Linked DNA regions of Homo sapiens: region 2 is linked to region 1. Evidence: promoter capture Hi-C in human tissues and cell types (Jung and others, 2019). All regions are on one chromosome and are shown on one strand. The core of a region is centred on a gene start or on the middle of the fragment in contact, and the rest is flanking DNA. Distances in the headings are between cores, read along the strand shown.

Evidence for each region. The method cuts DNA at HindIII sites, captures the fragments that hold promoters and counts their contacts. A contact is called where the count stands out against the background at its distance.
Region 2: a fragment that was not itself captured here is called in contact with the fragment with the promoter of TCF15 in region 1 in 2 of the 25 tissues and cell types used here (H1 embryonic stem cells and spleen).

Annotation. Positions count from the first base shown.
Region 1 is chr20:607,234-613,137 of GRCh38, reverse strand. TCF15 (transcription factor 15) reads left to right here and starts at 2,829. Exons shown (of 2, transcript NM_004609.4): 1 at 2,829-3,425. The coding sequence starts at 2,901. RefSeq lists enhancers at 921-1,421, 1,422-1,922 and silencers at 2,622-2,731, 2,742-2,911. The HindIII fragment of the contact is 16,586 bases long and covers 1-5,904 here.
Region 2 is chr20:684,914-690,817 of GRCh38, reverse strand. No RefSeq gene overlaps it. Among named protein-coding and RNA genes, the nearest start is that of SCRT2, 12 kb to the right of the region's middle. RefSeq lists enhancers at 1,119-1,697, 1,698-2,278 and a silencer at 5,519-5,813. The HindIII fragment of the contact is 5,508 bases long and covers 118-5,625 here.

The DNA.
Region 1 (5,904 bases), core at 1,580-4,079:
TCTTTGAACCTCCGTATCTTCATCTGTAAAATGGGAATAATGACAATACCTACCTCAGAAGGTTGTGTTGGGAAGGAAGTGAGATGAGCAAAATACACAAAGTACCTGCCCCATGGAGCTTATACTCTAGTGGAGGGAGACAGGTGGTAGACAAATAAATATGTAATGTCTCTACTGCTGTATCCGCAGTACCCAGAACTGTGCCTAGCACATAGCAGGTGCTCAGTTAATATTTGTAGAATGAATAAGTGAATGAATGAAAGTCAGTGACAAATGCTATAAAAAGAAATAAAGCAGGATAAGGGGAAAGGGAGAGCTGGGGGTGCTGGCAGGTTGGAGAAGCCATTACTGTTAGTGCTGGTGGTCAGGAAGGGCCTCCCTGAGATAAGATTTGAGTGAAGATTTGAAGGAAATGAGTGAACAAACTATGAGACTATCAGGGGCCAGGGGGGCCAGGAAGAAGTGGGCTCCAGATTTAGTGGGGAGGCCAGTGTGGCTGGAGCAGAGTGAGGGACAGAGAATGGGGGAAGCTGAGGTCCCCTGTGTAGGTGAGCTGAGAATGTGGTAGGAGTCCCCTCCGCACTCCCAGGGACAAGACCTAGAAAAGTCAATGCTGCTCAGCCCTTTCCCAGGCAGTTGGCTGGGGCCAGCCCCTAAAAACAGTAGCACAAACTCCTCTCAGGTACTGAGCACTCCTGTGTGCCAAGCCCAGCTCTACTGGCACAAACTCATGGAACCATCACCAGCCCTGGGAATGGGTACTATTATTATCTCATTTTCAGAGCAGGCAACTGAGACTCTGGGAAGCAGCTAACCTTGGAACCGGAACTGGGTCTCTCTGATACCAGACCCTGGCTTGCTCCTACCACATTGTCTTGAAATCCTTTGTTTACAGCTCGCCTTCCCCTCTCGGCTGCAGAAGGCCTGTCTCAGTCTCATTCATGGTTTTCTTCTACTCCCAGGGTCCCAAGTGTCAAAATATGCCTAAGGAGCAAATAAATGAATGAGCCTACAAGGCAAGCCCCTCTTCGCCTTCCGGGCCCAGTTCACGCCTTGGTTGGCATCTCCAGTTGGAGGTGGAATTGGGAGGGGGCTGGACAGAGGAATTTCAAGCTGCCTGAGGGTCAGAAGCAGAGAGGAGGGGGAGAAGGGGGAGAAAGCGAAAGTGAAGTGAGCTGGGAGCCCCTGTGAGGAGGCGCAGACAGGGAAGGAAATCTCCCGGTAATAATTCATCGGCTCAGGAAGCAGCAGCCTGGTCTGGGGCTGTGTGTGGGACCAGCCCTGCGGGGAGGGGGCCCATGCTGGCTGTTTCCCTCCTCCCCAAAGCCCAGCCTGGCTGGGGTCACGGTCAAATGCTGGCGGTGGGGGGATCCAGGTGTGGGAACAGACTCTCCCGCAGACCCTGGGTCCTAAGGGGCTCCTCCCCCGGCAGTCATGGGAAATCCCTCGCTCCCTCTTCTTCCCCTAATTCTGGCCTGGATCAGGGAAGCCAGGAAAGCACAGCATGGCAGAGCTGCAGGCATCGTCAGGAAAACAGACGCCCAGAGGAGCCAAAATGCACCTAGAAGCCTTTCAACTCCACTCCCTGCGCTCTGTCTGCTACACCGGCTGCCACTCGGGCTTATTTTCAAGGCCAAGTGGATGCTGGTTTAGCTAGTGCCTGGAGAGAGCTGAGCAGCAGGCACGAGTGAGATCGAGACCCCGGCAACCACCTTTGGCTCAGCAATTCTCTGAAGAGGACACGTCAGGCTGAACAATCTAAGGTTTCTAGAAGGCAAGCAGGCATTGAGGAAAGATAGCCCGTGTGTGTGTGATGGGATGGTGGTGGTAGGATTCCAAGAGGTAGTGAAACCGGACAGGCTGGAGCTAGCGCCGCCACTCCCACCTGTACGACTGAAGGCCGGAGCTCTCTGACCTGTAACTCAGGGCTGCCATCCTGCAGCCTCAGCTGGGCGCAATAGAGTATATAGCACCGAGTCTGGTACACAGTAGTTCCTTAACCAAAACGTCAGTTCCGTGAGGGTGAAGAATTTATTTTGTTAATGGCTGTATCCTCAGACCTAAAACCATGTCTGACACATAGTAGGGACCCAACGAATATTTGTTGAAAAAACGAACGAACTACTGGTGTTTGTGTATTGTGGTTTTGTTTTGCTTTTTTTTTTCTTCTTCTTTTTAAGTTTGTCTTCAGGGACAAGACACTGTCGAATCCTCATTTGGAAAGATTATAGCTTTTCTCCAAGTGTTCTCCACGGACACCACCACTATCACCAATGGCTTGTTACAAAATGTAGGTTCCTGGGCCCGTTCCAGAACTGCTCAATCAGAATGGGAGCAATTTGGGACTCTGTAATAGCAAAAGCCCCTTCCCCAGTTCTTACGCACGTGAAAGCTGCAGAACTACAGGATTAGAATTGGAGGGCAGGCAGACACTAGCTGTTTCTCTGCAATCTGAACGTTCCGAACGAGGAAACTGAGGCCCAGAGAGGAGAAAGGGATCTGCCCGCGTCTCCCAGGTGGTCCAGGCTGGAGACAAAAAGTTCGGATCTGGGCCCACCCCGGCCGACCCTCCCAGACCTCCAGCATCTGCCGGGCTAGCCAGCCGGGAACGGGGGCCTTCGGGGTGGGCCGCCGGCTCCCGGGCCGCTTTCAACCTGGGGGACGGAGGCGGTGGGAGCGTCGCCATTGGCCAGGGCGCGGCGGACGCCTCCCCATTGGCCGGGCGGACGCCTCCCCATTGGCCGGGCGGAGCCCTCCGCCCCCGGCCGGGGCGGCCTTGCCATTGGCCCCTCCCTCGCCTATAAGGCGGGGGCCGGCGGGGCCGTGGGAGCGCGCGGGAGCGCACGGCGGGGCGCGGCCGACGCTGGGACGCGGCGCACGGAGGGACGCGGCCGGCGCCCATGGCGTTCGCGCTGCTGCGGCCCGTCGGCGCGCACGTGCTGTACCCGGACGTGCGGCTGCTGAGCGAGGACGAGGAGAACCGCAGCGAGAGCGACGCGTCGGACCAGTCGTTCGGCTGCTGCGAGGGCCCGGAGGCGGCGCGGCGCGGCCCGGGCCCCGGGGGCGGGCGGCGGGCGGGCGGCGGCGGCGGCGCGGGCCCCGTGGTGGTGGTGCGACAGCGGCAGGCGGCCAACGCGCGGGAGCGGGACCGCACTCAGAGCGTGAACACGGCCTTCACGGCGCTGCGCACGCTCATCCCCACCGAGCCGGTGGACCGCAAGCTGTCCAAGATCGAGACCGTGCGCCTGGCGTCCAGCTACATCGCGCACCTGGCCAACGTGCTGCTGCTGGGCGACTCGGCCGACGACGGGCAGCCGTGCTTCCGTGCCGCGGGCAGTGCCAAGGGCGCCGTCCCCGCCGCCGCCGACGGCGGCCGCCAGCCGCGCTCCATCTGCACCTTCTGCCTCAGCAACCAGCGCAAGGGGGTGAGTGTGCTGCGTCCCTCGCTGCGGCCGCCAGGTCGGGGTAGGCGGGGGGCAGCGCCTCTGCGGGAACCGGAGAGGTGCAGGGGTCCCCAACGAGGCCAGGGGGAAGCGACGTGGAATTCGTGCTGGGTGCGGCACCCCAAGCCCAGAACCACTGACTTAATGCCCAGGCCCCCAAACAGAAGGATGCGGGAAAACCCAGAGTTCGGGTCTGATTTAACTGCTCAGTGTGGGATATCCCCTCCAACGAAAGGTGTGCTGGAACTTCCTTCCTGCTGGGAAGACGGCATGAGGACTGAGTAACAAAGACCCATCTTTTATGGAGTCTTCCTCTGTGCCGATGCGCTCCACATCCACTTTTTTGCCTTCACAAGAATCCCTTCAGGCAGGTAGTTTTTCTGCCCATTTTATCCTGATGAGGATCTGAGCATCAGAGATGGGATCACCTGCCCACATTTACTCAGCTGGGAAGCCGGGGCGCTGGCCCTGGGCTTGCCCGGTGTGTGTTGCCCCCACCTTGAAATAATTGTCCCCTGTCCTAAGATCTAACCCAAGAGCAGGAGACTGAGAAGAAAGGAGGCCACAAACCGCCAACCGAGAGCCTGAGGTACCCAGCGGATGAGCAGTAGGAGTGAAGAAGGGGCCCTCTGAGAGTCCCCAGCCCCCAAAAGGACGTGGTGTTGGGAGAGGGCACTCTTGGGTCAGCTGGAGGGAGCTGGTGTGCAGCTCCTGCAATGTGTCCTGGGCAAGAAAGTGGATCAGGCTGGTAGGGGTGGGCGGGGGCTGTGTGGCAGCAGAGGTGGCCTCTTGGCTGAAACCTTGCCCAGGCTCCAAGGAACCTGCTTCATCCCCCGACCGTGTGCCTTTCTGGCCTGGGCTTTTCCTACAGTAAAGAAGCCTGTCTAACAACTTGTATTCCAGCAGCTACCATTTACATCCGGGGAAACTGAGGCTGAGAGAGTACTGACTTTTGGTGGCCAAGTGGAAGGGCATGGGGAATTGGAGTTAGGCCCCTGACTCCCTGCTGTTTGGTTCTCACAGCTGCCGTTGGTCCCTTGCTCCACCCTGTTCTGCGGAGGCCTCTGCATCTTGGCCTGAGACCACCCTCTGTCTGGCTCATCAGATATCCAGCCTGGTTGCTCAACACTTGGCTGCCTCAGTTGCCCTGAATCGTCGGTCTTCTTAGCCTCAGGCTTGTGCCCTCTCCAGGGTCCCTGCTGCTCCCAGCTGTGGGCCCCTGTCAGTGCCCCAGGCTGGGCTGAGAAGCCAGGAGTGGGCCTTTAAGGCTTCCTGGGATGGGAGGGCCTGAAGGGGCTCTCAGGGATACTCCCTGACTGCCTTTCACCCATTCATTCCAGTTAGCAACCCTTAGCTACCCAACAGCTGCCTTCTGTTGGCTCTGAGAACCCCAGAGAAGCAGGTTGTAGGTCCCCACCCTTCCACCAGTCAGGACCTGACAGTACAGCCCCAGGGTCAGGGCAGGGAGATGAAGATGAGGATGCTGTGGTCTGATGGTGGGGGAGGGGAAGCACAAAGGGATTCTCAGAGCCCAGAGAAAGCCTCCAACCCAGGGTGAGTGCTGACAGGGTTTCTGTGTCTCATTTCTGAAGGATGCTTTAGAACAGGGGCAGGCCGATGAAGGGGTAGGAAAGGGTGTTCTAGGATTGGGGCATACAGCAAGAGCTCAGGCCTAGAGAAGGAAGAGGGAAGAGGTTAAAAGTGGCAGGAGTGCAGAGGGGGAGCACAATGGCCAATAACAGCAGTGACAGCAGCCTTCATGAGCACTGATCTGTGCTAAGCGCTCTTTATGATTTATCATTAAAATCCTGCAACAGCCAGGAATGAGGCGCTGTGGTTATCCCCACTTGCTTAGAGGTGCTGCCAGTGGCGCAGAGACACACAGTCAGTGATGGAACCAGGATTCAAACTCAGGCCTGCCTGGTTGGGACGTGGGATAGGTTACAGAGGGAAGTCCCTGTAACTGTCATGTGTCCACCCCCATAGCAAGCAGGCTGGGGGACTTCTCTGCAGGTCTCAGGCCTGTCCCACAGCTCACAGGGGCCTCCCCTGGGCCTGGCCGCTTCCCTGGGATCTGTCTATGGGACCAAGAACTCAGCCAAATTTGGCTGTAGAAACCATGCTCTCAACCCCACGGTCTCCTCTGGGAATAGGCGAGAGGGGCAATCCTGGCCAGCTATGGCCCCTTGAAGACTCTGCTGGAAGAAAACTGGCTGGCTTGGGGAGCTCTTGCTCCCTTCTGAGCTTTGTGGGCCAGAAGAGCTTTAAGACCCAAGACCCCGTTCCTTTACCCTGAGCCACCACCTCCCTCCCATCCTGGCCAGTCTGGAGTTGGGGTTGCCGTGGAAACAGTTTCCTGTAGCATCTTTCTGTTGAAGGAGGGGTTAGGTGTGGCCCTCTGTGGTAGAATTAGCACGTGGGAGGTGGAAAGGGGGTTCTTGTCTCTGCCCTGTTTTCCCTT
Region 2 (5,904 bases), core at 1,622-4,121, 78 kb before region 1:
GCATGCATGCTTATGTAACTATATATATCAAAAGCTATGAGTTTACACTGATTCCTCTAACTCCAATCTAACACCACAGGGTTCTTTCTAGCCTTTCCTGTTTTCATACTTGTAATTCCCTTCTCTGATGCTGAGCAACCTGGCTCTCATTATCCTTGATATATGAACCTGTTTGTTCAATCCCCAGGCACACTGAGCCACCACCTCACTCAGCTGCCTTTGTTGCTTAGTCCCAAATCTCAACAGCTACCTCCAACAAATGCTGAGGAAGGAAAGGAGGAAAGAGGAAGCTGAATATTTATTTTCTCTTTTTTGAACTAGTAATACATTCACTTCATACAAAAATAAAAGTTATAGAAAAGTATACAGTGAAACTCTCCCCTTCCTGTCTCTCATTCCAACCCTACTCCTCTCCTTGGGTAACAACTATTATTAGTTTCATATATACACAAGCTAATAGAAATACATTTTTCAAATTGTCTCCTCTTTTACAGAAACTATCCTTCACATTCCTTTTCTTATTTGTCAAAACATCTTAGGGAGCTTTCTATATCAGTACATAAGAAATGGTCTCACCAGTGACGAGTTTAAGACCAGCCTGGTCAACATAGTGAGATCCCATCTCTAAAAAAAGTAAATAAAAATAAACAGAAATAGAAATGGTCTCACCCTTTTTAATGGCTATATAATATTCCATACTTCAGTCAGCCCATGTGTAACAGGCATTTAGATCATTACTAAGATTTTGCTATGCCAAACAAAATTGCAATAAATAACCATGAATGCATTCATTCCACATGTATGCAAACATGTCTATAGAATAAGTTTTCAGAAGTGGGATTGCTGGTATGACCTTTTATGCTTATGTGTTTCACGATTAATGGTCTGTCTCCCCTCTTAGAATGTCATCTCCAAGAGGAAAGGGACTCTGTTCTAGTCACTGCTGCTTTCCCAGGAACCATTAGAACATGGTAGGCACTCAATAAACATTTATCCACTGAATGAGTGAATGACTAATGCACTCTGATTCTGGACTTCACCATGTCAAGCATTTCGTAGCCCCTGTGCATCAGGCGCTACGAACCATTCTCCAAACACCCCCGGGAAGTAGGAATTGTTTGACAGCCCCATTTGACAGATGAGAGTCCTGAGGCTCAGAGAAGGACCACAACTAGGCTGATGTCACACAGCTAGCCAAAGCCACACCACAGTTTCCACCAGGTGAGTCAGGCCCTGGAGTCTGCTGCCACGAACCACTGTGCCTGTGCCACATACACAGGTCAGTCTCCCAGCCCCGCATGGATCCCTCCTCTCACCCACCAGCTTTCCTGGTCCCATCTACTGCCCCCTGCCCTGGCCTCATCCCCAGCTGAAGACACTTACACTTGCCCCTACCCTGAGCCAACACAGGACAGGACGAAGGAGAGGAGCTGTCATTTCCATACAGCTGTCCCTGGGAGCCAGGCCCTGCCCAAGCCCCCCCATTTTCCCTGAAAAGGCTGAATTGTCTTGGCCGTTTGGGGGGCACCTCTCAGCACAGGCCGGGCTGCCTGGGCAGGGTTTGGCTAGGCTATTATCCTACATTATCTCACTCCCCTGCTCCTGAAAAGAACCAGTGACTGCTCACCGCCCTCAGCCCTCCCCTGCCTGCTCCATCTTTTACACTTAATTACCTCACTCACTACCCCGCAGCCTGCAGAGGCCGGACCACAACTGGGGCGTGAGTAATCCCCGCATCGCACACCCAGCCAGCCGGCCAGCAAGCAGCAAATTGCTCACACGGCCCATAAATAAAGGAACAGGGCGTGCTTGGGCCTTCGGAGCAGAAGGCCCCTTGTGGTGGCTGCCGTGAGGGGCAGGTATCGGCCCCAGCTTCCCAGTTGGCCTTTGCCAGCCCTGGTGAGATGTCTCCACCTCCTCCACCCCAGAGGTGACCTTGAACTTCCCCAGGCCACTGAAGTCACAGCTCAATGCCACTGAGACAGATGGGGCAGCAAGCGCCAGCACCCCTTCCCCCCCACGACCAGGGTACCGCCAAGCATGACTTCCAGGGGCCTGCCTGACCCCCCCAGCCATCTCCCCGCTTCTCTCCTCCCCTCCCCATCCCCGCCATGGAATACTTTGTAAGCCCTGTGTCCTCTTTCTTTCCTAGCTTCGTTACTCATGCTGTTTCTGCTCCCTGAACACTTTTTCTCAGCACTCAGGGGTCTGGTTACTTCCTACTCATCTGAGAGGCCACTTCCTCTGGGAAGCCTTCCCTGATCCCTCTGGGCTGGGTTGGGGGCCTCAGGTACTTCCCCCATCAAAGCATCAAGCCTTTCCATTGTCACTGTCTGCTTTTCTCTTTTGAGGGAAGGACTGAGCCTTACGCATCTGCCTTTTGCCTATAGCACCCAGCCCAGGTCCTGGCACGTCACCAGGCTATTGACTAGGCGCTAAACAAATGTGAGTAAGTAAATGAGTACTTAGCAAATAACTTATCATTTCCAAGTCACAGTGCATGTAAATTATATTTCAAGATATGCGGAACGTCTGTAATGTCATTTTAAAAAATCTGTGATTTCTATTGGTGACAAAGTCACAGGTCCTGCTAATACCACTGTGGTCTGTTGCCTGCATTCATAATTGAAGGAATGATAAGTTTCAGATAGAGGTTAATGAAATTAAAGATGTAATACTTTCCCTATCCAAGTTAATGACAGACCAACTAAATTCTTTCCATGGACCCCAGGTTAGGACTTGTGATAGGGAATGACATTACTTCACTTTACACAGCTTGGCAGACATCGTTAATCAATTGCAGCAGTCTTTCTCAGTGAGCCCAAACTCAGTTACAGCATCTATCTCAGCACCATGTTCCAGGCTACGGACCAGTCAAGATTGGGCTCTTGAGCTGTAATCGACTTGGCATTCCTGGGAAGTGAGAGAGGGGCAATACTATTATAAGCGTGAAATTAAGGGAGAAGGGCAGTAAAGTGAGGTTTTGCAACAATATGTGGGTAGAGGACCATGAAAACAAAACGCTTGCTAGTAGCTTGATATATGCCACCCAGGGAAACAAAACAAGCTTATTAAATGTCTGGTCATGTAATTAGAAGTCCGGTATCTACGGTAAGGGAGGTGACAGTTTCATTCTGCTCAGCTCCATTCACCTATTTCTGGAGTTTTGTGCTCAGTTCTGGATCCTGTATATTCAGAAGAACACTGACAGACTGGAAAATGGTTCGGGGAAGCAACCAGGATGGGGAGATGTGTGGAAACTGTATCCTGTGCCACTGATTTGTTGACACCATGGACATGCATTGAGCCTTTCCTCTGAGCCGCTCTGTGCTAGGATCTGGGGACACAAAAATGAACAACCCAGGCCCCTGCCCTCAAAGTGAGGACAGTGGAAAGAACTTGGTATGTGCATATCCCCAAGGGGCCATCTGGGCCAGAAGGATGGAGTCTGTGCACAGAGAGCTGAACATGAGAAAAATAGTACCAGTGGAGTTTCCAGACAATGGCGTGAGCTGCTAAATCATCCAGGACCCATGGCTGCAGACGTGCCTGAAGGATCTCCAGGAGGGTCAGAAGGCTTACAGGCTTCATATCCAGAAAAGAAAAAAGCCCTCAAATCAGACCAAAGCCCTGGCCTGAGGGAGACTTCACTGCTGACACCACGGGTCCCCAAGACAGAGCTCGTGCTGCTGACACCAACGCTGGATGCTGACACCAGGACTTTAGTCCTTGCTACCTCTGGACACTCAATGTAGCAACCACCACACCCTCAACAGAATGGCACGAGGCTAATCTGGGTCACTTGACTGCCCCCTGGCCAAGACGGGGCTGGGAAGGCCAGCAATGATACCATGAGTGGGAGGTGAGGTCTCAGAAGCAAGGAGTTGGAGGGTGCTGGACGGCCAAAAGGAAGGTCACCTGCCCACTCCAGCCACCAAGGACTAGGTGAATCTGGTCAGCCCAGCTCTGAGCCCAGCATTTTACATGGACCATCTCTGTTAATCAACTCAGCTCTCAGAATTGTAAGCTATGCTTTTCAATCCCCATTTTACAGATGAGAAAAGTGAAGCTCAGAGAATCTAGGTCATGTGCCCCGTTCTTTTAACTGCTCCAGGAAGGTAAGTTCGCGGGGGCAGGGGAGTCATTTATCCACACTGAAGTTGATCTAGCCAACTGGGCTCTAGGCACCACCAGTCCTGGGATCTCCTGGATTCCACCCTGAATCTGCCACAGCAATGCTAAAGCAGATTTCCTGAGGCTTCACCCAGCACTTGCTGCATTCTGGACTCTACACAAAAGTCACCTCCTCAGAGAGGTCTTCCTTGACTACCCTATCTAAAATGGCTCTCGCTCCACCTCTCTTTTTTTTTTTTTTTTTGAGATGGAGTCTATCTCTGTCGCCCAGGCTGGAGTGCAGTGGCGCGATCTCGGCTCACTGCAAGCTCCGCCTCCCGGGTTCACGCCATTCTCCTGCCTCAGCCTCCCGAGTAGCTGAGATTACAGGCGCCTGCTACCACGCCCGGCTGATTTTTTGTATTTTTAGTAGAGACGGGGTTTCACCGTGTTAGCCAGGATGGTCTCAATCTCCTGACCTCGTGATCCGCCCGCCTCGGCCTCCCAAAGTGCTGGGATTACAGGCGTGAGCCACCGCGCCCGGCCTCCACCTCTCTCTGTCTTTGCCCATTTCCCTGCCTGGTGCTTTCTATGACAGGACATTGGCATATCTACCTACTCTTGGCTCAGCAGGATGTAAGCCACATGAGAGCAGGTCTCTGTCTTGTTCATTGCTGTGTCCCCAGCTCTTAGCACAGTGTCTGGCACATGGCAGGTCACAATAAGTATCTGCAGATTTATAGCTGTGAGCCCCTGGGCAATTTTTTTCTTTCTTTTTCTTTGTTGTTGTTGTTTGTTTGTTGTTTGTTTGTTTCTTGAGACAGAGTCTTACTCTGTCACCCAGGATGGAATGCAGTGGCCCGATCTTGGCTCCCTCTTACCTCTGCCTCCCGGTTCAAATGATTCTCATGCCTCAGCCTCAGTAGCTGGGATTACAGGTGCATGCCAGCATGCCTGGCTATTATTATTATTATTATTATTATTATTATTATTATTATTATTATTATTTGTATTTGTATTTGTAGCAGAGATGGGGTTTCGCCATGTTGGCCAGGCTGGCCTTGAACTCCTGGCCTCAAATGATCCACCCACCTCAGCCTCCCAAAGTGTTGGGACTATAGGCGTGAGCCATCGCGCCCAGCTGCTTGGGCAATTTCTTCACCTCGATGTTACCCACTGTCCCCCTTTTTATAAAAGGGGATAATCATGTCATATGCCTCCAAAAGTAGTTGTGAGGGTTCTGTAAGTTCATGTAGTATCACAGCCAAGCAGGCCTTTTCATGAGCACCTGTTGTGTACCAGGCCTATAATGGGGCACCTGTATGGGGTCCCCGCCCTTGAAGAGTTCACCATCTGGATAGGGTTCCAGAAGAATTTCATTGCAGGATCTTGACAGAGCCACAGGAGTCAGAGAGAGGAGAGGCTCCTTGGGGCTGAAAGGCCCAAGAGGTCACTGTAAGAGGATAGCCTCAGAATTAACAATGGCCAATATTATTGAGCACTGGCTGTGTGCAAACACCTCACTCATCTTCCATCTGCCCTTCAAGATAAGCCATTAGTATCAACATCCTCATGTAACAGTTGAAGAAACTGAGATAAAAAGAGGATGGGAAACTTCCCCAGGCTGGGTAACTTGTTGGTAAGCAGCCGAAGTGAACCCAGATCATCCACGCTTTCAACTCTTGTGCTCCCCCTCCCCCTCTGCAGCTAGGTGAGATGGGAGGCTAGGAAGATGAGCACTAGGGGCATGTGGACATTCTGACTCCTTAGCAACCTGTCCACTGGCAAAGT